Linked DNA regions of Homo sapiens: all the other regions are linked to region 1. The links are contacts of gene promoters, found by promoter capture Hi-C in blood cells and fetal thymus (Javierre and others, 2016). All regions are on one chromosome and are shown on one strand. The core of a region is centred on a gene start or on the middle of the fragment in contact, and the rest is flanking DNA. Distances in the headings are between cores, read along the strand shown.

Region 1 (4,659 bases), core at 1,350-3,849:
CCATTAGGAACTCTTCTGTAATATTCTCCTCTAAAAGCTGTTCAACAATATGTAGAGCTTTTCTCTCAAATTCAATCTTCTTTCTCACAGCTGCTTCTAGTTCAGCTTTCCTAAAATTTGAAAGAGAAACTTAATCTACTTAAAAGCTTCATGTCCAACATTCCATGTTTTAAAATACAATACTAACCTAACTCACTATTTTGCCACTTAAATTTAAATATATTTAAAAAATTTTTTGAATAAAAATATTTATTTCTTTTTAATTGTAGAGACAAGGTCTCACTATGTTGCTCAAACTGGTCTCGAGCTCCTGGCCTCAAGCAACACTCCCACCTCAGCCTCCCAAAGTGCTGGGATCACCGGCATAAGCCACCACATCCGGCCAAATTTCTGTTTTCTAATGCTGTTACTTTTGATCCAATACTTTTCAAAAAGGAAACAAGCTACTTTTTGCACTGCACATACATAAGTCTTTATATACTCTTTGTATGGTTAATGTCTACTTAGCACGCAGGTCTCAGCATAAGGCTTTCGCTGAAAACTCACAGCCAACCTCCCTGCCACCCACCTCCAACTAAATTAGACTTCGTTATTCCTTCTCGTAACATCACAGTCTTTTCCTTCATAGTGCTTATCACAATTTGTAATTATGTATTTGTTTATGTTAATTAACTAATTAATTTATTATTATTTATTCCTCTGTTCCACTAGGCAAGAACTGTGTCTATTCTGTTCACCATATCTTCAGAGCCTAACACAGGTCCGACATATCTTATACTCAATAAATAATTTTTGAAAGAATGAGTAAATTAAGACCAAAGCCAATATAAGATTAGTGAGTCTTCACAAAATAAAAATCATAGCTACATATGCTTTTAATCCCCTTCACATTCTACTCCTCTTCTAGAAACTCTGTGTGATATGTGGTAATATCTTGCCTTTTTAGAACCAGAACTAGTACAAGACAGCTTTTTAATGAAAATCTGGACTTGATGTAACAAAGAACAGAAAAGGTTTCTTGGAGTGACAGCGAAACTTGGAGAGTGAGTCTCTGGCATATAAAGCAATAAAAGGAGAGTGTACCTGAAGCGGTGAAAAACAAACACCTTCTACAGACACTCATTCCTTCACTAGCAGTCTGAGTGCTTAGTTTGGTTTTCTTAAAGCCTGGAGTAGAGGAATGTAACAGTCTATGTGAGAATTTATAGGCCTTCCCAGATCTTTCCCTTCCCTCTCATGATAATTTTCTCTAAAAAAAAAAAGGTAACCATTATTGTTTTAAAATTGGTACAAGTAATACAAGATAAGTAGATATGCCAATGTAGTTGTCCATGTAGCTGTCATACCTTTTAGAAGCATCTTCTTGTTTCAAAGTACTTGTCTGTTTAGTACCTACAATAAAAATACAGTCATGTGCTACATAATGACATTTCCGTAAACGACGGACAGCATACAGACAGCGGTCTCATAAGATTAAAATACTGTATTTTTACTGTACCTTTTCTATGTTTAGATATACAGTTGCCTACAGTACTTAGTACAGTAACATGCTGTGCAGGTTTGTAGCCTGGGAGCAATAGGCTGTACCATATAGCCTAGTGTGTAAGTAGGCTGTACCATCTAGGTTTGTGTAAGTGCACTCGATGATGGTCACACAAGGATGAAATCGACTAACAACTTATTTCTCAAAATGCATCCCCGCAGTTAAGCTACACATGGTGGCAGTAGGTCAGGTCTACACAAACACATTAGGTACAAGATAGATTCCTACACAAATAACAAACTGTAGACCACCTTTTCTTCTTTTCCACATATTTTATGTCCAATCGTGTGTAAATCAAAATGAAATAGGAAGGGAGAGCAATTTGTTTTTGCAAATTGATTACTGTCTAATTTTTCTTGGTTAAAATGTATCTCTTTGGGGATTGAATTTTCTTCTGTATCATAGTTGCTTAATTAACCACTCCTGAAAATCTGAGATCTGGGTACTTTTAGGGGAAACCTCTCTCCGTCTGCCAAACGTCCTCTCTGGGGGAAGAGGGGAGTCCGGCACCTTAAAGAACTGGGCACCCAAGCAATCTGGAAAGGAGGACCGGTCCTAGGTTCAAGGCCAGCTGCCAACGCTGCCCTAGTCACTTGCCCCGAAACCCGGGGACCCCAGGCCTGGGTTCCCGGGGCCTCCACTGTCCTTTGTCTCAGAGGCTGGGGCCACAGTCCGCGTGAGGGAAATCTTGGAACACTGGCGTAAAGGGGTGAGGGGCGGCCAGGAAATCTTTCCCAGGAGGTGCGGACGGCGGTGGGAAGCTTTCGGCCTACTCTACCTGGGAGAACCCCTCCCCTGAAGCAGCCTTTCAGGAGCGCCCGCGCGCTGCGGTCTATAACTCGAGATCGGGGCCCAGCTTTCAGGGTCCAAAAGTGGGAAGAGATCCTTGCTCCTACCTGCGGCTTTTCGAGAGCAGCGGGGAGCCCCGGCCTTGCGGCCGGCAGAAGACGGCCCAGCGAAGTCCGCCATGGGGGAGAGTAGTCTGCCGGACGGGGACACGCTCCGGCGTCTCGCCCCGAGGCCCCGCCTCCCTACGCGTAGCGCGGGGCGGGGCCAGAAGAGCGGGCTAAGACGCCGGAGGAGGTGGCGGCGGCTGGGAGAGGCGAGGGTTCTGGCCGGTAAGTGGAGTTGTGGAGAGGTTCAGGGTGGCCAGGGCTCGCGGTTGGCCGTGAGCCGCGGCGGACTTGGTGCTGCGGGCCGACTAGGCCACGCGAGGTGGTGGAGCCTGCCCACCTAGGCGAGCAGGAATCGGAAGACATGGCTTCCTCTGATGCAGCCCGCACGCGCGCTGGGGTGTTCACTCGCCTTCCAGCGCGCTGCCCTGAGGACCGGGCTGACTCGCGCCCCTACTGAGGGCTTGGGGCCGAGCCTTGCCGCCAGGAGAAGCGATGGTCTCCTCCTGAAGGCCGCCGTTGTCTTGTCTCCGTGTGATACAGTGATTTCACTAGCTGGATTGATCACTTTGGGGACTGCAACTCCTAGAGAGAAATGGAATGGAGGGCATCTGAATCTTCACCCCCTATAGATAAGCTTGTGTTGCACCCCAATTTTTGTGAGGTGAGACATTAAAAATGAAAAATCCCCTGATGATTAGAATTTTGATTTCAGGTCCACCTTTTGGAAATTTTTTTTCAGAAAAGAAGTGCTTTGCTTTTTAAAAGCCCTTTAGTTCGTATATGCCTCGCCTCTTGGGAGTGCTCGAGAGGTTTTTTTTGTTTTTTTTTCCTTCAAAGTAGCTTTCAAAACTATGCTCCTAGAAAACTTAAAACATGCAATAAGGGCTTCTAAAAAAACACTTTATTTTCTTAGGCAAACATACTAAGATTCAGTAATAACATTTCAACTTTAAAACTTTACATTTTCTCCTAGCATGCTATTGGACCAAAAAACACAACAACAAAAACTTTCCATTTTCTTTATTGTATTTACTAATAATTTATCACACTGAAACATAACTTTTGAATACTTAAGTGTAATATCACGGATAGTTAACAGTGTGTTTTGTATTTGTAGATTTTAGCATCGAAACTAGGAGAAATAAGAATGGCTGTAGAGGAACTTCAGTCTATAATAAAGAGATGTGTAAGTATTAATTTTTGTAAAATTAAATACCTTTCAAAATATGGGAAGGGCACAGATTGTTTTTAATTATATTTGTGGTCACTCAAATTGTTTATCTTCTTTAATCCTTGCTTTTTTTGACCTGTAAAGAGCATGAGTGGGGGAGGCAGATTGGATTATTTCTCCAGGTGACATACTTATCTAAATAACCTTTTACATTTTAATCCTGATCCTTTTCATAGATTTCACTGGTACAGTAGATTTCAAGGTCACTTATTAAAGTATTTATTAGGGTAATCCTAATTTTGATACGTGTGTTATTTACGTTACATTTATCTAGAATTTAAACAGATTTCCTTTTTTCATAGATAAATCAAGAAGTTATTGTATTTAATTTTTATTTGCATATACTTTTTTTTGTTTGTTTTTTGGGTTTTTTTTTTTTTTGCCAGCAAATCCTAGAAGAGCAAGACTTTAAAGAAGAGGATTTTGGCCTATTTCAGTTAGCTGGGCAAAGATGCATAGAAGAAGGGCACACAGACCAGCTATTAGAAATTATTCAAAATGAAAAGAATAAGGTGCGTACAATCTTGGTGTTTACTTTTCAGTCTTGGGAAGAGAATAATCACATGATGCTATTCATCCAGTCATTTATCCATCAAACATTTAAGAATCTACTTAAATTTTCACAGTAGGGAACTGAAAACAAAAAAAGAATTAGAAATATTTAGGCCAGGCGCAGTGGCTCACGTTCGTAATCACAGCGTTATGGGAGGCCAAGGCAGGCAGATCACTTGAGCCCAGGAGTTTGAGACCAGCCTGGGCAACAGAGTAAGACCCTGTCTCAGAAAAAAAAAAAAAAAAAAGAAAAGAAACAGTCATATACTTGAAGGTTTTTACCATCTGGTCAAACATAAACATGTAAACAACTAACAATAATGAGGCAAAATAAATAATTGCTATAGTTGAAGTAAAGAGTTTTTAGAAGAAACAGAATTACTTCTGGTTTAGGGAGTCCAAAAATGGTGTTTGAGTCATTAATTTACAATGAGAAA
Region 2 (4,659 bases), core at 1,037-3,536, 300 kb before region 1:
TACTTAACGTATGGTTTATGCAACCTATTACTTTTCTAAAATCTGAATTCCAAACACACCTGGTTTATTTTGTTTCGGTTTGGTTTACCACACTAGAATAAGGAAGAAGTGATGGCTGTGAGGCTTCGGGAAGCAGATAGCATAGCTGCTGTGGCTGAACTACGACAACACATTGCTGAGCTTGAAATCCAGGTACCATATGAAAATAATAAAGTACATGTAAAAATATAGTTTCTTCTATCCTCTTTGTCTGAACAGTAACTTACTCTTTATCCTCGTGACTGTGATTCTTTTTTCAGTAATCATTCATTTCCAATTTTTTTTTATTGTGGTAAAATAGACATAAAACTTACCATTTTAAAGTATACAGTTCTGCAGCATTAAGTATATTTGACACTGTTGTGCAGCCATCACCACCATCCATATCCAGAACTTTTTCATCCTCCCTAACTGAACCTCTTTGCCCATTAAACACTAACTTCCCATTCCCCAGCAACTGGCAACCACCAGCAACTGGAAACCACCATTCTACTTTGTCTCTATGAGTTTGACCACTCTGGTTACCTCATATAAGTGGGATCATACAATACAGTCATATGCTGCATAAGGACATTTCAGTGACGGACAGCATATATGGTAATGGTCCCATAGGATGATAATGAAGCTGAAAAATTCCTTTTGCCTAGTGACTATAGCCATCATTATGTTATAGTGCAACACATTACTCATGTGTTTGTGATGAGGCTGGTATAAACAAACCCACTGCACTGCCACTCTTATAAAAGTGTAGCACGTACAGTTGTGTATAGCACATAATACTTGATAATAAATGACTATGTTACTGGTTCATATGTTTGCTATACTATTTGTTGTTTTGCTATACTAATATTGCTATTTTAGAGTCTAATTCTACTTATACAAAACAAGAGTTAACTCTAAGACAGTCTCAGATCCTTCAGGAGGTTTTCCAGAAGGCATTGTTTTCATAGGAGATGACAGCTTCATGTGTGTTATTGTCCCTGAAGACCTTCCAGTGGGACAAGATGTGGAGGTTGAAGATAGTGATATTGGTGGTGCTGACCCTGTGTAGGCCTAAGCTAATATCTTAGTTTTTAACACAAATGTTTTAATTTTTTTTTTTTTTGAGGCAGGATCTCACTCTGTTGCCCAGACCGGAGTTTAGTGGCACAGTCATAGCTCACTGCAGACTCCAACTCCTGGCTCAAGCAGTCCTCATCAGCTTCCCGAGTACCTGGGACTACAGGCACACATGACCACACCCAGCTTATTTATTTATTTATTTATTTATTTAGTAGCAATGAGGTCTCCCTTTGCTGGCCAGGCTGGTTTCGAACTCCTGGGCTTAAGTGATCCGCCCACCTCTGCCTTCCACAGTGCTGGGATTACAAGCATGAGCCACTGCGCCCAGCCTTAATTTTTTTTTAACTTAAAAAATTTTTTGTTCATCAGGTGTAATGACTCATGCCTGTAATCTCAGCACTTTGGGAGGCTGAGGCAGGCAGATCTTGAGCCCAAGAGTTTGAAACCAACCTGACAAACAAAGTGAGACTCCCTCTCTACAAAAAATACAAAATAAAATTAGTTGGACCTGGTGGTGCACCTATAGTCCCAGTCGCGGTTACTTAGGAGGCTGAGGTGGGTGGGTTGCCTGAGCCTGGGAGGTCAAGGCTGCAGTAAGCCATGATCACAGCACTGCACTCCAGCCTGGGCCACAGAGTAAGACCCTGTTTCAAAAAATATATTTATTAAAAATTAAAATTAAAAATAGAAAAAAGCTTATAGAATAAAGATATAAAAAAAATTTTATACACCTGTACAATGTTTGCTAAGCTAAATGTTATAAAAGAGTCAAAAAGTTTAAAAAATTGGAAGTTTATAAATAAACTTACAGTAAGTTAATTTATTATTGAAAGAAAAACCATTTTTTATAATGTTATAGTATATTTACAAATTTTCTTCATTTTTAAAGCTGAATAATATTCCATTGTATGTATATACCACATTTTTTATCTGTTCATTCATTGATGGACATTTAGGGTGCTTCCATGTTTGAGCTATTGTGAATAATGCTGCTATGAATACAGGTGTACAAATTTCTGTTCAGGTCCCTGCTTTAACTTCTTTTGAGTACGTAGAAGTGGAATTGCTGGATCATATAGTAATTGTTTAATTTTTTTAAGAAATTGCCATACCATTTTCCACAGAACCTACACCATTTTACATTTCTACCAGCAATGCATGAGGATTTCATTTTTTCCGCATTTGCACCAACACTTGTTAATTTTCTGTTGTTGTTTTTATAAGTACCATCCTAATGGGTGTGAAGTGGTATCTCATTGTGGTTTTGATTTGCATTTCCCTAATGATGAGCTATGTTGGGCATACTTTCATGTGCTTATTTCGCATTTATATATCTTCTTTGGAGAAATGGCTATTCAGGTCCTTTGCTTAATTGAACCAGGTTGTTTGTTGTTTTTGTTGTTGAGTTATAGGAGTTATTTATATATTCTCAGTATCACTTTCTTATCATATATATGGTTTGCAAATATTTTCTCCCATTATGTTTGTTGCCTTTTCTTTGTTGATAGTGTTTTTATCACAAAAGTTTTTAATTTTGCTGAATCAACGTACCTGGGTTTTGTTTTGTTTTGTTTTTTTTGGTGGTGTTGACTGTGCTCCAAGTCCATTTTTTAGTGAAAATTTATCATATTTCTATATTATCAAAACTATCTTCAAAAGAAAATTCAAAGCTTTAAAAATAAATATGTTTTTACAGGGCACAGTAACTCATGCCTGTAATCCCAGTGCTTTGAGAGGCCAAGGTCAGGGGATTGCTGGAGGCCAGGAGTTCAAGACCGGCCTGGGCAATAGAATAAGACCCTGTCTCTACAAAACAATTTTTAAAAATTAGCTGAGGGCATGATAGTACACTCCTGTAGCTCTGGCTACTTGGAAGGCTAAGGTGGAATGATCCCTTGAGGCCAGAAGTAGGAGTTCCATATTACAAGGAGCTATGATCAAGCCACTGCACTCCAATCTGAGTGACAGAATGAGACCTTGTCTCAAAAAAAAATTTTTTTAATAAAAATAAATGTGTTTTGTCACTTCTTATGCCTTACTTCTTGTATAATATGATAAAAGTAGTAAGTTTTCCCTATGGACAAAATACTATGTTTAAAATCTTATGTCTTTCAAAGTCTTTAATTATATTGTACTCCAAGTCACAATAGTCTTTGCTGTAACATCTAGAATTTTCTTCCCACCTGAAATTTCCTTTTGTCTTTAAATTTCAATTTCAAATGTAATTAATTTCCAAACTTACATATTATATTATAACTTCATTTTTTGATCTGGATCAAAAGTAACCACAACACATTATGATTTGTATGTTTATAAAAAGGTATCCTTTATGTTCTGCTGGTAGTAGTCCCCATAAAGTGCACATATTCAGAAAAACCTCAGACATGAGCCAACTGCATAATATATTTGTAATCAGTTGTTTAAATCATGCTATCGTATGTGATTTTAGCATTAGTCTGTACTTTTCTAAACATCAAGAAAATCCTAAGAATTTGCCATATTTCTATACATCTTAATCACAAAATAGTAAAATTTAAATCACTCTTTTTGTTGATTCTGAAATATTTATTAAAACGAAGAACCTGGTATGCAGGATTTTTGTTTAAAATGAAATGTAATGTGTTACATTATTTTTGAAAAATAGAAAATTCATGGAATTTTTTTTAACATCTTCCAATCCTTTACCCCTAACCCCGCATCTAGCCCCTGGTAACCACCATTCTACTCTGTACTTTTGAGTTCAACTTTTTGTATCCCACATGTGAGATCATGTAGTGTTTGTCTTTCTGAGCCTAGCTTATTTCAATTTCACTTAAGGTTCTCCAGGCTCATTCATGTTGTTGTGAATGACAGAATTTCCTTCCTTTTTAAGATTGAATAATATTCCATTGTGTATATGTAAACCACTTTTTCTTTATTCATTCATCTACTGATGGACATTTAGGTTGGTTGCATGTCTTGGCTATTGTGAATAATGCAGTGAACACGGGAGTGCAGATATCTTTTCAACATACTGATTTAATTTCCTTTGGATATATACCCAGTAGTGGAATTGTTAGATCATATCATCTGTTTTTGATTTTTTGAGGATTTACATTTCTACCCACAGTGTGTAAGAGTTCCCTTTTCACCACATCCTCTCCAGCACTTACTGTCTTTCATCTTTTTGATAATGGCCATTCTAACAGGTGTGAGGTGATAGAATTGTTACTGTTATTATAGTAGGGGTATATTATCATCAACTGGCTCTTGATAAAGTGGTCACTGGAATCCTAATTGCCAAATTTGTTGCTATTTTTTCAGTATTTGCCTGCTCATGCTTATTGCATTTGTTTTTGACCATTTCGTCCTCCTTGCATTCTCACCTCCCCTAACTTTGCTACCACCACTTACTTTTGACTCTCTTTTTTCTTGTTTAACTGTTGTTTACAGTCATCTTTATCAGTCGTGGATGTGTGTATTCCTCTGAAATCCGAGGTTTTGGCTTTTACAAACTATACCCAAATGAAGGGTCTCACTTACATGGCTTCAGGAACCATCTTTACCAGGGTTTCCCAA
Region 3 (4,659 bases), core at 892-3,391, 280 kb after region 1:
CATTGCTGTGTGGTCCAGGGACTACACATTCAGAACAACTCAGAACAAAAGAAAGAAAAAAGCAAAAGGATTCACTATGTAGAGAACATCATTGATGACTTATCACGGATTCTAGAAAACACAATAAAAAAAGGTTCTAGGAGTTGGAGCAGGTGTGAGATGGGGCCAGAAACGGAGTCTTCACAAAATCAGGCTTTTGTTGAAGACAGTTATATGCATGATGTTAAGAGAAGCCAATCTTTTACTAAAAATAATGTATAACATAGGAAGCATTGGTTATAAACTAATGGTATTGACTTTTATTTGCTAAACTGACTTTAACCCACTAAAAGTTTGTTGATTATCTGCAATGTGCCAGGCCCCTTATAGCCTAAGAAGAGGTTAAGTGCCAAGTCAGTTAAACAGAATAACCAAACATAGCTCTCTATAATCTTTTATATTATGTAAATAAAATTTTATATATATATATAATCATAGGACAATCTGTACTGTTTAGCACAAACTGATTTCTTAATTAAAAGAGGTATAGTTGGATAAGAATACACTATCACTTTATTTATTTATGTATTTATTTAGACAGGGTCTCACTCTCATTGCCCAGGCTGGAGTGCAGTGGCATGATCTTGGCTCACTGCAGTCTTGACCTCCCAGGCTCAAGAGACCCACCCCCCCCGCCCACCAACTGCCAGTAGCTGAGACTACAGGTGCGTGCCACCATGCCCCACTAATTTTTGTATTATTTTTGTAGAGACAGAGTCTCAACATGTTACCCAGGCTGGTCTTGAATTCCTGAGCTCAAGCAATCTGCCTGTCTCAGCCTCCCAAAGTGCTGGGGTTACAGGCGTGAGCCACCCTGTCACTTTAATTCTGGCTGTGTCATGAAGGTCACATCACCATTTAGTTACTACTTAATCATGTTTTTCACATGCCTGATAATTTAAAGATATGTCAAAAATTTATCATATTAATTATAAAAATAAGTGAAGTCAAGATAACTTTTTCTCTTTCTCTATAATAAACATACACTTTGAATTTTTACTTTAGATGGTATCAGAACACTGCCTGAATCATGTTACACTTCCAGAGTTCAAAATTTTAAAATACATTAAGCTGATACACATGATTTACACATAATTGCAACTTGAAAATAACAAAAGAGAAATATTTTACAGAATATTTAAATAAGTCTTATTGTTGTTTAAATATTTTAAACATTCATTACTATCACATATGCATATTAAGAAATCTCATAAGTTTATATAGAAACTTACATACATAATATTCACTATTAAATATTACAAATAAATATTTTAGTTATTTTGACTCAAATTCAACATCTTTCAAACCATCGGCAATATTTCTTGTTTTTTTTTTTTCTTTTTTTGAGACAGGGTCTCATTCTGTTGCTTAGGCTGGAGTGAAGTGGCACAAACACAGCTCACTGCAGCCTTGACCTCGTGGGCTCAAATGAGCCTCCTGCTTCAGCCCTCTATGTAGCTGGGACTACATGGAGTGCGCCACCATGCCTCATTTGTTTTTTTGTTTTTTTTTTTTTGTAGAGGCAGGGGTCTCACTCTATCACCCAGGCTGAAGTGCAGTGGTGTGATTTCAGCTCACTGCAACCTCTGCCTCCTGGGCTCAAGTGATCTTCCCACCTCAGCTTCCCAAGTAGCTGGGACCACGGGTGCGCACCACCACACCCAGCTGATTTTTTGTATTTTTTGTAGAGACAAGGTTTCACCCTGTTTCCCAGGCCCAAATTCCTGAGCTCAAGAAATCTGCCCACCTTGGTCTCCCAAAGTGCTGGGATTATAGTTATGAGCCACCACAACTGGCAGTTCCAGCCAATATTTCTTTAAAACTACATTTCAATATAAATTTTTAATATAGAACCAGCTGAGAATCTTATGAAATCTGACATTCAGTGAAACCAAGTATTATTTGTTAGAATCTAAATATTTTTGAAGGCAGACGAATATTTGTTTTAAAAGTTAAAAACTCAACAGGAACTATGTTTTTTATACACTTTCATATATTCTTCATTATTTTTCACTTATTGAATTAGAAAACATACTCTTCATTTTTAAACAAGCAGGAGCTATCTTTTGGATTTTCATTGCTTAGTACAGGGCCTATAATATATAGACAATTATTTATAGAATGAACGAATATCTGGGAATTTGTCCAATTTTTAGGGATCCAAAATTATTAAATTTCCTTTGAATTATGTCGTTTAAAAAATAAGCATATAGCTATTAAAAATGTAAGTGAAAACTGTTTAATCATTTTAGAGCAGTCAAAATACAATATAAGATTGGTATCTTGTTATCTGAAAGCAATCATTTTACCATATGCATTTTGATCTTTTACCATTCATTTTAAGTTGATGGTTAATTTAAAAACTGAGTTTTAATCAAAGTTGTTTTCAAACATTGTCATAATGTCACTTTGAAGGGTCATATCAATGGTACCCACCATCTGTAGAAAAAGCAGAAAATTTTAATATTACTTTAAAAATGTATGTCTTTACTACAACTATACAATAATGATTATGCAACATTTAGGAACAAATCATACAAAAGAAAACTATTCAATAATTTTTTAATTTTTATTTTCTCAGGTTGAACAATAAATTTGTACATAATTATTTCTGTTCAAATATTACCTGATTTGTTAATATATTGTTCATGTAATAAATAAAAAACAAAACCTACAAGAACACTAAGAATAAGTTTGACCCCTCCCTACAAGTAAAAGAGAAAGTTCAATGTTGACAGAGTGGGTATGAATAAGAACATGAACGCTGAGAGCACACTGTCTTACTTCTAAACCCAGCATAATGCCAGACACACAAAATTACTTTCTGAATGAACCAATATCTTTGTTATGTGAGATAACTATAATATGTAATGCTAAAACTATGGGCTTTCCTTGATTCTGCCACTTACTAACTGTGTAACCTAGTCTATTCTATGTATAGGCATTTATGAAGAATCAGATTACATGTAACATTCAGCAAAATGCCATATTAATCACGAAAAAGCTGTTTAAAAAATAAGCCAAAGTAGAGAAAAAGCTAATTAAGACAAAGGAAACAAATGTCAACTATATTCTGAAGCCTTTTCTAACTGCCCTTATAGATATTCTTTAGCATCTGAGATGACACCAAATATTAAAGTTCACAAAATTATTTTTAAAAAATAAATCAATAAACAGCAACAGACCAGAGTGGTAGGTAAAAGCACCAATTTGCAATCAGTTGGTTGGCTTCTTGAATGGGAATTAGCATTCTCATTAGCTATGTGGGAAAATATTTGGAATTGTGATTTACCTACTGAAAGTATTTGAAAGGTATGTCTGACTCTTACAAACCATATAAATTTCTTTAAATCTGCCTTAGAGACAAAAAAATACTTCTTAAATCTTAATCTAGACTACATTTTTTTTAATCTTTTTTTTTTTTTTTGAAACATTGTGTCGTTTTGTCACCCAGGCTGGAGTGCAGTGGCGTGATCTCAGCTCACTGCAACCTCCGCCTCCTGGGTTCAAGTGATTCTCTTTCCTCAGCCTCCCAAGGAGCTGGGATTACAGATGTGCACCGCCATGCCCAGGTAATTTTTGCATTTTTAGTAGAGACAATTTTGCCACATTGGCCAGGCTGGCGTCGAACTCCTGACCTCAAGTGATCCACCTGCCTCAGCCTCCCAAAGTGCTGGGATTACAAGGCGCAAGCTGCTGCAACTGGCATGAACTACATTCTTTTTTTTTTTTCTTGTGACAGAGTCTCAATCTGTCGCCCAGGCTGGAGTGCAGTGGCATGACCTCAGCTCACTGCAACCTCTGCCTCGCAGGCTCAGGTGATTCTCATATCTTAGCCTCCCAAGTAGCTGGGGCTACAGGTGCGTACCACCAAGCCCAACTAATCTTGTAGTTTTAGTAGAGATGGGGTTTCACTATGTTGGCCAGGCTGGTCTCGAACTCCTGACCTCAAGTGATCCACCTGCCTTGGCCTCCCAAAGTGTTGGGATTACAGGCATGAGCCATTGCACCCGGCCCCAGACTACATTCTTAACACCCAGTTTCTAGGATGCCAAATGTCTAGCACAGATTTTTCCTTTAAGTTCTATTCTAAGCCTCCAATATAGGCATTGGATACGTTGTCCTAGTTTAAATATCATGTGATACTGCTATAAGTATCCAGACATACTGCAAAATTTGTAGAATATGTAATGAAACCTGTTTTTATTTAAAGGTTGTGTGTATTGGCTTATTTTAGATTCTCTTACATCTTGACTAAAATCTGTGCATGTGGAACAATTATCGATAGAGAACTGGTATTCTCTGTACCAATTAACCTTAGATACCATGATTTTTTTTTTTTTTTTCTAGATGGAGTTTTGCTCTTGTTGCCCAGGCTGGAGTGCAGTGGCGTGATCTCGGCTCACTGTAACCTCTGCCTCCCGATTCAAATGATTCTTCTGCCTCAGCCTCCTAAGTAGCTGGGATTACAGGTGCGCCACCATGGCTGGCTAATTTTTGTATTTTTAGTAGAGATGGGGTTTCACCATGTTGGTCTCGAACTCCTAACTTCCAGTTATCTGCCTGCCTCGGCCTCTCAAAGTGTTAAGATTATAGGCGTGAGCCACTGTACCCAGCCAA
Region 4 (4,659 bases), core at 1,453-3,952, 280 kb before region 1:
TTCACTTTTTATTCTTTATGAATTTATATGATTATCATTATAATATTTTATGTATATTTAAATGACATTTAAAGTAACTGTTGCTAGAAAGGAAATAAGAACTAGAACTTCCAGATAATTATAGGGAAAAAGTAACAAAGGAAACTTGGGCTACCAAGCAAAAGGGCCACCTTTTTTTCTGGCCTTAAAGTCCCTGAGTGTTGTCTGGCTCCTGCCCATTTCTCTGACCCATTTTAAATGGCATTCTCCTTCACCAGTTAGTTCTAGCAACTACTCACCTCCTTTTTTTTTCTTGAATCAAGCTCTTTCATTCCTACATTAAGGCTTTTGCTTGTGCTCTTTTTTATGATTGCAATTCTGTGCTCCCTAATCTTCCCATGACTGATACCTTCTCATCATTTAAATCTCAGCCTAGATATAAGTCACTGCCTGACCACCTTTGTAAAGTAGGCCCCTCACATTGTTACTGTGTCTCATTATCATGTCTTATATTCTTTATGGCTCTTGTCAGTGCCTGAAATTATTTTTACTTTAAAAATTAACTCTCACACCCCATGATGTTTCAGTCAACGATGGACCACATATATCATCTGGGTCCCATAAGATTATGAGACAGTATGTGTTCTGTACCTTTTCTATGTTTAAATATTTAGACACACAAATACTTAACCACTGTGTTACAGTTGCCTACAGTATTCCATACGGTAACATGCTGTACATATTTGTAGCCCAGGAACAGTAGGCTATACTGTATAGTCTAAATGTATAGTGGGCACTACCATTTAAGTTTGTGTAAATACACCCTACGGTGTTCACACAACGATGAAATCCCCTAACAACACATTTCTCAGAATGTATCCCCATTGTTAAGCGAGTCGTGACTACATTAGAACCTTGTTTGTCTTATTTACTGCTGTATGCCTGGTGCCTGGCATATCACAGGTGCTCAACAAATAGTTGCTGAATGAATTTTAGGAGGGAGAAAATAGTCATGTATTGACCTTCTATGCCATAAGAGCAGGTAGCAGGTTTTAAGTACTTTCTGTGTAAAGATTCCTTTACATACTTTATTTAAATAAATGTTGCACCAAAGATGGCTTGAAACTCCCAGAATTACCTACCCCAACTATCTAACAAAATAGTAAATAGTTTTTTTTTTTTTAAGCAAAAACTTGCCCAATAAACCTGAGAGGAAAAGGAACATAACCTAATGCAATAAACTTTAAAAAGTGACAGCTAACAAAAGAAGCAGACAGTGGTAGAGCAGAGAGGCCTGCCAGGGCTTGGCTTCTAACCTTGACTATCTATCCCATTTCCAGGCTGTGTAAGTCAGCAAAATCCCAGGAGAATTCATTTATATCTCACATGTGGAGAGAAGGAAAATGAGTATGTAATCTTCTGACTGAGGAGTGGTAGAAACTTCTGCAAAGGATAACCAAGTGAAAGAGATCAGAAAAGTGACACCTCACTCTTAAGTGAAGGCCCTAGGGCAACACACTGAATATGGGAAATGATCTGAATCCTAAAACTCAGGTTTTGTGATATATTCCCCCAACTAGGTAGTACAAGATATTTAACAAAATCTCAGAAGAGTAAGAAGAGCCCTTGTTTAGCTAGGTTTTTTCTTTCACTGTGCATTTTCCTGAGACTATAGAAAAGTGAGAACAAGCTTGAGCTTGGAAGGCAAAGGAAATAGATCTCAAATATGGTGGAGAGATAGTTAGTGTCATCCATATCATTAGCGTACTTGGAATATGTGGACAATCACCTAGCCATGAACATGGTGAAAAGAAATAGCACAACAATTTAGTTTATATTATTTATTAATTATTATTGATTATTATTTAGCAGAAAGAAATACCATTCACAAAACCAAAAATCCCAACCAAGAAGAAAGGTAATTCAAGGATAAGAAGAATTACAGTTGCTTCACACTGTAAAACAACTTAACATTAATTCAATAAAATTAACAGATTGAAAGATAAGATAGCCCTTTGAACAAGTGGCTGGTAGTCCACCCACAGAGTGCTGTGTCCAGGCCTTGTATAGACATATCTTGCAGCTGCACCTGGTTCTGCCCCCAGACATCAAAGCCCTGGGCAACCAGTGCATGAAGGACTAATTTAGGAGACATAAGACTGTTGGTTCTGACAAGGCTCAGTGTATTTGCAGGAATGGAAGGTGTATGCAGCAATGTTATGGCAAGCAAGATAAAACACAAAATTCAACTGAAAAAGCATGTTTTGGCACCTCCCTCTCAGAAGAAAAACCTAATGACTTTGGTGATGAACGAATTGGATACTTACAAGAGGTGATACAAGAAACTACTAAATACAATAAGCAACTTAGTAATACTGAGCCTACAAAACCAAAATTTTAGTCTGTACAATAAAGCTTAACAAAATATGTAAAATTGAGAACCCCTTACTTTAACTATCATTGATTGGTTTTTAAAATTTATTACTTAAGCTTTGAAGCTTTTAGAATGCCTAGTGTTAATTAAATATTCTTTTATTTTTGGTTGTTATGAATGCAATATATGAATCAGGATCACTAGCAGACAATTGCAAAAGATTACAACATTATTGGAATAGCAGTCCTTGCTGGGTGGAATTTGATTTTTGGATTAAACAGGAAAGAATGACTCTAAAATGGACAAACTTCTAGAATTTTGCTGAAAAAAATGTTTACATATAAATTAATTTTAAATGCCATTCTTGTTCAAGCATTAGCCTCATGGGTTTTCTTTAGCTTGATCAGATAAGTGTATAGCGATAATGATAGATACAAAATTCCAACAAAAATACATTGTCATTCTGAAGGTTTCATTGTTTCTACTTTAATAATACATATATGATTATTATTCTAAATGTTCCTTCTCCCTGAGTCATTGTTTATTCACAATGAAAGGTTAAAGAGAAGCTTGAAGATTCAGTATTATCATTTGTAAAATAGATAGTACAAACTATAATACATTTCTACTTTGTTTATTAATCACAAGCGACCGTTTAAGTTAAATAATTTAGGTTGGGCACGGGGGCTCACACCTGTAATCTCAGCACTTTGGGAGGCCAAGACGGGTGGATCACTTGAACCCAGGAGTTTGAGAGCTCATATCTTTCTTTTGTTTTTTAGTTAAAACTATTTTTTCTAGTTTTTTCCCCTCAAACATTTAGATCTTTCTATACAAAAGGTGAACTCCCATTTATAAGCTAAAAGTAATAAATAGTAATGGAGAAATGTATACAGAGGGGAAAAATGGCTATTAATAACTGTATTAGTCACAGTAAAACCAAACCATCACATTAAAATTGCTGAAAAAGGAAATTAATTTTATAGTATATTATTTCCGTGAAATATATAAAATACCATTGATATTTTTTATAGGCTGTCTTTGATTTATCTTTGTTTTATTTTTTGTACCTTGGTCTCCCTTGACTTCATATGAGAAGGGATTCGTAAGTAATTATAATCTGGTTTTCCACACTGGCCTCCTTCCATTGGCTCTCTTATTAAATTTGAATACACTAATAGTCTGATCAGTTGATTTAAATATTTTTTGGCAAAATAAACTCTTCATAGGCCATTCAGACAGACTAGGGAAGGGAATGGTTTATTAATAAGATGAATATTTAGGAGCCATCTGATCATCCAATGCTACAGAAGATACACGAGAAACTTTGACAGCTTTGCTTCCCAACTTTGACTTGATATCACTCTTTACAGAGGGCTCAAGAAAAGATACATGAATAACATAAAATAAGTACTGCATTTTTAGAAAAACAATTCTAGCACATGTCCTGCTATGATCTGTCTCAAATCAAAATCCTGATTTTAGGTTTAGGCTGGGTATGATGACTCACACCTGTAATACCAGCACTTTGCGAGACTGAGGCAGGAGGATCACTTGAGCCCAAGAGTTTGAGACCAACCTGGGCAATGTAGCAAGACTTGGTCTCTATTTAAAAACAAACAAACAAAACCATGGTTTATATTGGAGCCATTTATAATGATATAAAGAGAATGGGACTAAGAGTGAAACCTGGCTTCTACTCCTTGCTTTTTCCTGGCTAGTCATGTGGTCCTTGATAAGTTACTTAACCACTGAGTCCATTTTCTTTTCTTTTTTTTTTTTTTTTAGACAGAGTCTTGCTCTGTCTCCCAGGCTGGAGTGCAGTGGCGCGATCTCAGCTCACTGGAAGCTCTGCCTTCCGGGTTCACGCCATTCTCCTGCCTCAGCCTCCCGAGTAGCTGGGACTACAGGCACCCGCCACCACGCCCAGCTAATTTTTTGTATTTTGTTTAGTAGATACGGGGTTTCACCGTGTTAGCCAGGATGGTCTCGATCTCCTGACCTCGTAATCCGCCCGCCTCAGCCTCCCATAGTGCTGAGATTACAGGCGCCCGGCCGTCCATTTTAAATCTCTAGTGCTTTTGGGGCCAGGCCCAGGCTATGTTCAGTTCAAGCCACCTATGAGGATACACACAGGTAAAGAGGCCATGCCAAAAAAAAGAGGATTTAGTATTAATTTTTCATTCCAGAATTTCTCCACACTTTAGTTTTGCTAAAAGAAAGAAATGGTGACAAGAATCCACCATATGGGGGTAATAGTTCTAGACCATAATAGTCATCAAGCTGGGAGAAGAGCATCTAGAGAA
Region 5 (4,659 bases), core at 2,160-4,659, 270 kb after region 1:
AAGCATAACATGAAAATGACTTATGTTTATTTATGCACATAAATCCAGAAGGGGAAAAAAATCTTCATGCAGGGAAAATCTTCTAAGGAAGACTTCTCACTCTGGAAAAATTATTAGGTATAGGTGTCTTTGCCATCCTCCACTCTTTTCTTCAATGCCTAATACCTCCTAGTACACTAACATCCTCAATACATTTATTCATAAAGTCCCTTTCACTCACAAAGTATTAACTAAAGTGGGTCGGGTGCAGTGGCTCACACCTGTAATCCCAACATTTTGAGAGGCTGAAGGGGGCAGATCACTTGAGGTCAGGAGTTTGAGACCAGCCTGGCCTGTTTAACATGGTAAAACTTTGTCTCTACTAAAACTTCAAAAATTAGCTGGGTGTGGTGCGCACTTGTAATCCCAGCTACTTGGGAGGCTGAGGCTGGAGAATCACTTGAACCCAGGAGATGGAGGTTGCAATGAGCTGAGATTGCACCACTGCACTCTAGCCTGGGCAACAGAGCAAGACTGTTTAAAAAAAAAAAAAAAAAGAAGCGTCTTAAGGTAGTAATCCTTTCAGCACTAGATGCATTTTAAATCAGGATTTTGAGTGACATAAAATCTTTAAGACTCTAAAGGAGGTAAGAAATCTGTAATGCTGGAATTCTAGGAATTATAAGATAGTAAGGGAGAATTTGGGGACAGGATATTGTCCTAGACCTTTCAAAATATACCAGATATTCCACCTTTGAGTCAACTAAGGGAACTGGGCTTTTAAAAACATCAATTTCTTGACCTATTTAGTTTATGAACTATTTCTTATAGCCCTGTGCTATAAAAACTGGTTTTCTTTTACTGCCATGATATGTACCACCCTTTTTTTTTTTTTTTTTTTTTGAGACGGAATCTCGCTCTGTTGCCCAGGCTGGAGTGCAGTGGCACGAGCTCGGCTCACTGCAAGCTCCGCCTCCTGGGTTCACACCATTCTCCTGCCTCAGCCTCCCGAGTAGCTGGGAGTACAGGCGCCTGCCACCAAGCACAGCTAATTTTTTTTTTTTTTGTATTTTTAGTAGAGACAGGGTTTCACCGTGTTAGCCAGGATGGTTTCAATCTCCCGACCTCGTGATCCACCCGCCTCGGCCTCCTGATATGTACCACCTCTTTTAAAGATGTTCATTAAAAAAAAAAAAAAAAAAAAAGTTTAAACATGTGTTGCTTTCATCTGTACTTATTTGGCCCAGTGGGGTCAATAGAGAACAGAACACTTCCCCTTAGGTAACTGCTATGGTCTGAATATGTTCTCCCAAAATTCATATGATGAAGTTTATTTGCCTCCAGAAGACACATCAACAAGGCACCATGTTGGACACACACAGACATGGATGTCACCAGACTCTGAACCTACTGGTGCCTTGATCTTGGATTTCCCAGTCTCCAGAACGGTGAGAAATAAATTTCTATTCTTTATAAATTACCCAGTCTCAGGTATTTTGTTAGCAACAAAAATGAACGAAGATAGTAACTAATAATTACATATTTGGGGCTCCAGATTTTCTTCCTAATGAGAAATATTTAGGTACTTAAATTATCCTGCATTCATATAAGCCTATTGCTCTGTGCATAGGAAATAGTTCATTTTCAGTTTCCATAAGTGCTCTACTCTGCCTTCTCCTCACCCCAGCCTCACCAAAATCTTCCTAATAACAATCACTCCACGTCTTTGGTTTGTTTAAAATCTCCTTTCCCTACCCAGTGTTGTATTTTGTCTATAGTAGATACTCTATACAAACTGTTTTGTTACTATTTCAGAAATTTGAAACATTAAAAGATACTTCTTTTAATCCTCAAAAAAATATATAAATTTAAATTGGTAGCAGGTAGGTCTTTTTAGGAGGAAAAAGACCTGTGATTCAGGAACATTTAGGAATATTAACTCTGGGCACATGATCAAAAAGTAGGGTCTGTTAAAAGTCATTACAAGAGGCTTGGCGTGGTGGCTTACATCTGTAATCCCAGCACTTTAGGAGGCCAAGGTGGGAGGATTGCTTGATCTCAGGCTTTCAAGACCAGCCTAGGCAATATAGCAAGATCCCACCTCCAAAAAAAAAAAAAAAAGCTAGGTGTGGTGGTAGATGCCTGTAGTCCCAGCTACTTGGTAGGCTGAGGTGGGAAGACTGCTTAAACCCAGAAGTTCAAAGCTGCAGTGAGCTGTGATCATGCCACTGTGCCCCAGCCTGGGTGACAGAGTAAGACCTTGTCTCAAAAATTGCCATTGTAACAGTATTAAGAGGTGGGACCTTTAAGAGGTGGTTAGGTCATGCAGGCTCTGCCCTCATGGATGGAAATAATGCCACTATGAAAGGGCAATTTCGGCCCCCTTTTGCTTCTTTGCCCTTCCTCCTCTGCCATGTGATGTTGCAGCAAGGAGGCCCTTGTCAGATGTTGGCACCTTGATCCTGAACTTCCCAGCCTCCAGAACTCTGAGAAAATCATTTATGTTCATTTTAAGTTACCCAGACTGTGATATTCTGTTACAGCAGCACAAAATGAACTGAGAAAATAAGCCAAGTTTTAATGTAACAATAAATGTTAGTTGGTAAGCTTACCAGAATTCTGGAAATCCATGAAGCAGCAGCATAAGTGGTTTGCCTCTTTCTCCAGCAGCAACATAGTGAAATCTTAACCCTGAATCCTGAAAGTAGAGGGCATGGAATTTTAGTGATGTTTGTGTTGATTGACAAAGCAATATATTTAGCATTTCCATTTCATTAAAAAAATAGTAACTTGCCTTATTTTAAAACATTTGTGTATTTACAATATCTTCATGACACTCAGTTGCCTTATTTTTAACATCAAGAAATATATTTACTTTTATTAATTTTCAAAAAGAAAAGCAAACCCCATGACCTATTAATAGGGTAAATTGACAGATTCACTTTGTCAACACTCCCTTGACAGTACCTTCTCTTCTTGTTCTAGTACAGTCAATTTATATATTATGAGCTTCTGAAGCAATGTCACAATTTGTAACTTTCATCTTACCATTTGTAACTTTCATCTTACTGATGTGTCACATTTCATCTCCCTCAAATGCTGCAGGACATGTAAATAATTCTAATCTGAATTTATATTTCTGCCATGTTTACATCCTAGTCATCTACTTTTCTCAGCTTGCCCGTCAAGAGCTGTGCCATCAGTTATATAATTCACACCTCCTTCTCTTATTTTTAGGTCTCTCCTTCCCACATTATTATTTTGAGTGTTGCATGTTCTGTTCCCCTTGCTGCCTGCTCATGTCATGTCAGTGTGCGTTTCTAATAAGAGAATGCCCTGAGTGCTCAAGACTTCACTCTGCATGTAGGAGACAAGAAAACCCAAGGAAAATTAAAAAAACATGGGAATGAGTCAGGAATTCAAGCAAATACTAAGCAGGCTGAATTGAGGAAAGTAGAGGGAACAGCAGGAATAAAAATCTCTGAAAGCAAGCAAGCTAGGAAACAAAAAGAACCAAAAGCTAAACACAGACATTGGGTTTTTATAGCAGGCAACTCAAGCAACTGAGTTTTCAGATGTGAAAGAATCATTTTGCAGATTCAGAAGATGAGGCCCAAAGATGGTAACATGAGTCATAAAATGGTTGAGAGCAGGGCTGTGACCAGAATCTCCATCTTGTCCTAACTCCCAGGACAATGCTCTTTCCACTCGGTTCTCTGTCTCTGGGGAAGCTCTTTAGGCGGCCAGAGCGAGGGGAAAAGTGTTTTATGGAATTCCAGATGGTTCTTATACTACTTTTACCCCTCAGGTTGAACAGAGATAACAAATCTGACTTTACCCTCAGCTGCACGATGGCTTCCTAGAGGTTCAATAACTTTTTTTATTGGTGGTGAGTCTTGGAGGATTAAATGTTATGGGCACTGCAATGGATTTAATTAACAGATACTTTATTGCACTGACTATGCATCAGGCATTGTTCTAAGTTTTTCGTGTTTGTTTTTATAAATATTAACCTATTTAATTCTCATGTCGACCCCAGGCAAGAAAGAAGTTCTCTTGCCCTTCTGAACTTCAGCTGCGGGGCAATTTAGCTCCTAACAGGAAATAAGGACTTGGTGACATAAACATCCCCTCTTATGAGGCTGGGTTTGAAAGGCCTGTGAGTCAGACTGCAGGGTGTATCACGGGAACTATTTCCCTTCACCACCTGGAGCCTCAGGAAACAGAATATTTGTGGGCTGTGAGGAAGCTTGAACAATTAGCGTCTGCAGGCATGGCTGGATTTACCTTTTATTCCATTCCTTTCTTTGGTCCCTGACTTCATAAGTATGCATTCCTCCCCACAACACACACAATTTACTTATTGTTTCATGCAACCTAAGTCGTCTGTGATCATAATAAACTCATGACTCCCAAAGACTGACTGTTTACTCTTATTATCTCTAAAATTGGGCAAGAACAGCCTCCTGAGACATTAGGATGCCACGAGGAACAATTCTCTACAGCTGATCTGAGCTCTAAAGGGCAAAAGGGTGACAGGAGACAGCTTCCCCTTGCAGTAGGAAAAAGAGCAGGTTTATTCTGGGTTGTTGTGGCGCCGGGGGGCAGTAATATAAGAGGCCCCTGATTAGAGAAGTTCCACATTCAGAAACCAATCAAGGTGCCTGCAAAGACCGAGTG
Region 6 (4,659 bases), core at 1,452-3,951, 260 kb before region 1:
GCCAGGAGAGGACCAAAACCACCAGGGAGATAGGCGGGAAACTGGAGAGTATGAAGACACAGGAGTCCCAGAAGGAGGAAGGGATCATTTCAGCGTAGTTATTTAAATCAGATTTTAAACTTCCCTGATCCTTTTGAAGAATAAACTTATTAAGACAGATTTTTTGGCCAGGCACGGAGGCCCATGCCTATAATCCCAGCACTTTGGGAGGCTGAAGCAGGTGGATCACTTGAGGTCAGGAGTTTGAGACTAGCCTGGCCAACATGGAGAAACCCTGTCTCTACAAATAAATAAATAAATAAATACAAAAATTGGCTGGGCGTGGTGGTGCGCGCCTGTAGTCCCAGCTACTTGGGAAGCTGAGGTGGGAGGATTGCTTGAGCCTGGGAACCAGAGGTTGCAGTGAGCAGAGATCACACCACTGCACCCCAGCCTGGGCGACACAGTGAGATCCTGTCTCAAGAAAAAAAAAAAAAGTTTTCTTCGGAATTTTTTATGATTTGTCAGAGAACAATGGATGATTTAAGAAAGAACTTGAAAGGAGAAATGTTCTATCTCTAAATACTACTGACTGAAACACCCTTCCTGAAGAAATTAGAGAAACAGCCCTTCATGGTGGCTCATGCCTGTTATCCCAGCACTCTGAGAGGCTGCGGCAGGCAGATCATCTAAGGTCAGGAGTTTGAGACTAGCCTGGCCAACATGGCTAAACCCCGTCTCTACTAAAAATAAATAAATAAATAATACAAAAATTAGCAGGACATGGTGGTGCGTGCCTGTAACCCCAGCTACTCAGGAAGCTGAAGCACGAGAATGGCTTAAACCTGGGAGGCGGAGGTTGCAGTGAGCCAAGATCTCACCACTGCACTCCAGCCTGGGCCACAGAGACTCCGTCTCAAAAAAACAAAAAAAGAAAAAGAAAAAAGAGAAATGTAAGCTATTTCAAGATAAAGCTGGAAAAAAAAAAGAACTATTTTGGTATGCTATAAACAAAATAAAACTCAGGTAGATAAAACCAACTTACTTTGTAGGAATAATCATTGTATTGGTTTCTACTACCCAGAAGGTCTTCTGTCATCCTGTCTTTTTTGTTGGGAAGGCAATTTTTCTAAGTTAAATTATGTGTCACAGGAAGCTTTTTTTAAGTAGGTGATTAGGAATTTGAGTAAATAAAAAGAAATCTAAATAAAGCCTTTACTGAAGTTTGACTTAGAAAATGTTTATATAGACAGGAATGGTAGTGTGGGCCTTGTAGTTCTGGTTACTTGGGAGACTGAGGCAGGAGGCTTGCTCTGAACCCAGGAGTTTGAGGTTGCAGTGAGCTAAGATCATGCCACTGCACTCCAGCCTAGGTGACAGTGAGACCCTAACTCTAAAAAAAAAATAAAAGGGTAAGAAAAAAATTATGTGAATATTCCTTAAGTTTTTAAATTCTGATATCTGTTTATATAAACCTGAGCTATGGATTTAAATATATATCAAAAAGTATTTTTAATGTCCTAGATATTCTTAATGTAGTTTTTAATACATGTACTCATTTTGTTACTAAACTGGAATTTTTGAAATAAGGAACTTTAACAATCAGATGACAATACATTAAGTCCTCACTTAACATTGTCAGTAGGTTCTTGGAAACTGAGACTTCAGAGTGAAAGACATATAACATGTCCATGAATAATGTCGTTTTGTTTATGATGATGAGGGGAAAAGTTTGGTTTCTTTATATGTCATCTTACTTAAAATGACAGTTTCCAAGAACCTATGGAAAACTTTAAGTGAGAACTTACTATATGTCCTCTTATATTTCTTTGGATTTTTTTTTCCTTATGCTTGTATTTTTCTATTTAAAGCAGTGGCTCACGCCTGTAATCCCAACACTTTGGGAAGCCGAGGCGGGTGAATCACAAGGTCAGGAGTTTGAGCCCAGGCTGGCCAACATGGTGAAACCCCGTCTCTACTAAAAATACAAAAATTAGCCAGGCATGGTGGTGTGCACCTGTAATCTCAGCTACTGGGGAGGCTGTGGCAGGAGAATCGCTTGAACCCAGGAGGCGGAGGTTGCAGTGAGCCAAGATCACACCACTGCACTCCAGGCTGGGGGACAGAACAAGACTTCATCTCAGAAAAAAAAAAAAAAGAAAGAAAGAAAAAAGTGGTTAATAAGATCTTTTTAAGGCTCATTCAGCATTGCTCTTCATCTAGGGATTAAAACTAAAATACTAAAGGTAGAAAAGAACTTAGTCATCTGGTTCTGTAGTTGTTGGCAGCTATTTTTTTTCTTTATTTCATACTGAATGATACTGTTTTTTGGTTTATTTAACTTCATGCTTATTCCTTTTTTTTTTTTTTTTTTTGAGACGAGTTTCACTCTGTCACCCAGGTTGGATTGCAGTGGCACAGTCTCGGCTCACTGCAACCTCCACCTCCTGGGTTCGAGTGATTCTCCTGCCTCAGCCTCCTAAGTAGCTGGGACTACAGGCACATGCCGCCACACCTGGTTAATTTTTTGTATCTTAGCAGACACAGGGTTTCACCGTGTTGCCCAGGCTGGTCTTGAACTCCTGAGCTCAGGCAGTCTGTGCCCCTCGGCCTCCCAAAGTGCTAGGATTACAAGCATGAGCCACCACGCCCGGCCATGCTTATTCTTATTTCTATTTCTACCAGTCTTTATTTCCTTTTAGGTAACACAAAGTTCCAAGTATGTTACCTAGTTTACAGAGTGGTACTCAAGAAGAGAATTAACATTCTTACTGTAAAACTTCATTGATAACAATAGTCTACTTCTAGAAACAGAAATAAGAATTAAAAACAGTGCTATCTATTTGTACTGGTGAGTGAATTTTAACTTTTAAGAAAATTTTAATGTTTAAGAAGAACTTCAGTGTATGGAGTTACAAGCTATCCTGAATATTTTTATAATAGAAAGTATTAGTTTTCCCAGTGTGGCAGCTTCTTAATAAAAGAAATTATTCCCTTAAATTTGTTCTTTCTCTAATTAGAGCAGTGTAAAGTACCATGCAGAAGTTTCAGGATCTCATACAACCAAGTAAATAGGGTTTTTATCCCCCTACCCAGAAGGTCCCATGTAGATAATGAAAGATTGTATTTGCCATTCTGTGAAAATTGCTTTAAGCCCATCAAATGCATACACTGCTTTTTAATCTTACAGCCTCCACTTATATTTTAAAAACCCATTCTTTTCTTTCTTTCTTTCTTTTTTCTGGAGACAAGGTCTTGCTCTGTGGCCCAGCTGGAGTGCAGTGGTGCCATCACCACTCACTGCAGCCTCAACCTGCTGGGCTCAAGTGATCCTCCGACCTCAGCCTCCTGAGTAGCTGGGACTACAGGTGTGCGAGACTGCACCTGGGTTGGTTGGTTTGTTTTTGTTTTTGTTTTTGTAGAGACAGGGTCTCACTGTGTTGCCAAGGCTGGTCTGGAACTCCTGGGCTCAAGGGATCTCCCTGTCTTGGCCTCTGAAAGTGCTGGGATTACAGGCATCAACTACTGTGCCCAGCAAAAACTCATTCTTAATGACTTCTTTAAATGAGTAGCTATTACTCCTTTTCCTCTTATATGTTCTGTTTTATCTTGGATAAGCAGTTTATCTTATTTAAAGTCCATTTTAGAAATTATTGTGCAGATTTTTATATTTGGAACAATAGCGCTATGTAAAATACTTAAAGCTGAGATTTAAGAATCATATTTTTTAAACCAGAAGTGTTCTTAAAATTTATCTTGTTTTTCATTTGATAAATGAGGAAGCTGAGGTCCTGGTTAAGGGACTTACCCAAAGTTACAAAGCTAGTTCGTAGCTGAGATGGAACTCATGCCTGGGCATTCTAACTTCTGATCTGCTGCATCCCACTGCCCTACCATGATCCTGCTGGCCCATTTAATGGCGACATATTAAACATAGTAGGAGTTCTATAAGCATTTGTTTAATTGAATTAAATTGAATTGCTTCTCTCAGATGAGAACCTAACATCTAGTTAGTAAAAATCTACTCATAGCTCATATTCTTTATTTTTCTTTCTGTAGCAGCTTCTGCACTTCTATTCTATCTAAGACTGCAGAATTTGTCCAACTTGACATTCAGATTCTGCTTCAATTTCCATTTGGTGCTACTAGCATTGTAGCTTTTAAATATTTGATGACTTTCTGAAAACAGGCAGTTTTCCTAGCCATGTTTGATGTTTTGAGAAACACAGAACTTGACAAAAAGTCAATCCAATTCATATATGCCTCTTATTTAGGAAATACAAGCTTATTCAAAGACACAAATTAGCTTTGCTGTTAAAAGCATTCTGTTTGAAGAGTTTGAAGTTTAACTGGTGGCAAACTTCCACCAATGTTTCCAGATTAATTTTTTTAAATCTCCAAGGCAATATGTTTCTCCATGTATTTCTTGCCATTTAAAAGAATGTATAACATACTGTAGTCTGGGAAAAACTGTAATAATCACATACAGGGGCAGGGCGTGGTGGCTCACACCTGTGATTCCACCACTATGTGAGACCGAGGTTGGCTGATTGCATGAGCCCAGGAGTTTGAGACCAACTTGGGCAATATGGCAAAACCCTCTACCAAAAAAATACAAAAATTGGCTGGGCACGGTGGCTCACGCCTGTAATCCCAGCACTTTGGGAGGCCGAGGCAGAG

Evidence for each region. Contacts are between HindIII fragments. The CHiCAGO score rates a contact against its expected background, and 5 or more counts as called.
Region 2: a contact is called between a fragment that was not itself captured here and the fragment with the promoter of GLMN in region 1, in 12 of 17 cell types (naive CD4 T cells, naive CD8 T cells, activated CD4 T cells and 9 more). The highest score is 20.7, in naive CD4 T cells.
Region 3: a fragment that was not itself captured here is called in contact with the fragment with the promoter of GLMN in region 1 in 1 of 17 cell types (megakaryocytes); the score reaches 5.8 in megakaryocytes.
Region 4: a contact is called between a fragment that was not itself captured here and the fragment with the promoter of GLMN in region 1, in 5 of 17 cell types (naive CD4 T cells, activated CD4 T cells, total CD8 T cells and 2 more). The highest score is 8.0, in naive CD4 T cells.
Region 5: a fragment that was not itself captured here is called in contact with the fragment with the promoter of GLMN in region 1 in 2 of 17 cell types (fetal thymus and endothelial precursors); the score reaches 7.1 in fetal thymus.
Region 6: a fragment that was not itself captured here is called in contact with the fragment with the promoter of GLMN in region 1 in 1 of 17 cell types (total CD8 T cells); the score reaches 5.0 in total CD8 T cells.

Annotation. Positions count from the first base shown.
Region 1 is chr1:92,296,927-92,301,585 of GRCh38, reverse strand. GLMN (glomulin, FKBP associated protein) reads left to right here and starts at 2,599. Exons shown (of 19, transcript NM_053274.3): 1 at 2,599-2,661; 2 at 3,557-3,625; 3 at 4,057-4,182. The coding sequence starts at 3,587. RPAP2 (RNA polymerase II associated protein 2) reads right to left here and starts at 2,527. Exons shown (of 13, transcript NM_024813.3): 1 at 2,440-2,527; 2 at 1,347-1,392; 3 at 1-110. The coding sequence starts at 2,512. RefSeq lists enhancers at 2,114-2,343, 2,564-3,033, 2,605-3,501 and a silencer at 2,765-3,102. The HindIII fragment of the contact is 769 bases long and covers 2,307-3,075 here.
Region 2 is chr1:92,600,840-92,605,498 of GRCh38, reverse strand. EVI5 (ecotropic viral integration site 5) reads left to right here. Exons shown (of 20, transcript NM_001350197.2): 18 at 97-192. Among named protein-coding and RNA genes, the nearest start is that of GFI1, 120 kb to the right of the region's middle. The HindIII fragment of the contact is 975 bases long and covers 1,799-2,773 here.
Region 3 is chr1:92,012,025-92,016,683 of GRCh38, reverse strand. BRDT (bromodomain testis associated) reads right to left here. Exons shown (of 19, transcript NM_207189.4): 19 at 2,263-2,478. The coding sequence ends at 2,410. Among named protein-coding and RNA genes, the nearest start is that of EPHX4, 16 kb to the left of the region's middle. The HindIII fragment of the contact is 8,801 bases long and covers 1-4,659 here.
Region 4 is chr1:92,578,197-92,582,855 of GRCh38, reverse strand. The region is part of intron 18 of EVI5 (ecotropic viral integration site 5); the gene reads left to right. It also overlaps the pseudogene LOC107985727. Among named protein-coding and RNA genes, the nearest start is that of GFI1, 94 kb to the right of the region's middle. The HindIII fragment of the contact is 445 bases long and covers 2,480-2,924 here.
Region 5 is chr1:92,030,523-92,035,181 of GRCh38, reverse strand. It overlaps EPHX4 (epoxide hydrolase 4), which reads right to left. Exons shown (of 7, transcript NM_173567.5): 2 at 2,592-2,677. Among named protein-coding and RNA genes, the nearest start is that of EPHX4, 2.9 kb to the right of the region's middle. The HindIII fragment of the contact is 1,642 bases long and covers 2,589-4,230 here.
Region 6 is chr1:92,553,544-92,558,202 of GRCh38, reverse strand. All of the region lies in intron 19 of EVI5 (ecotropic viral integration site 5), which reads left to right. Among named protein-coding and RNA genes, the nearest start is that of GFI1, 69 kb to the right of the region's middle. The HindIII fragment of the contact is 3,128 bases long and covers 1,138-4,265 here.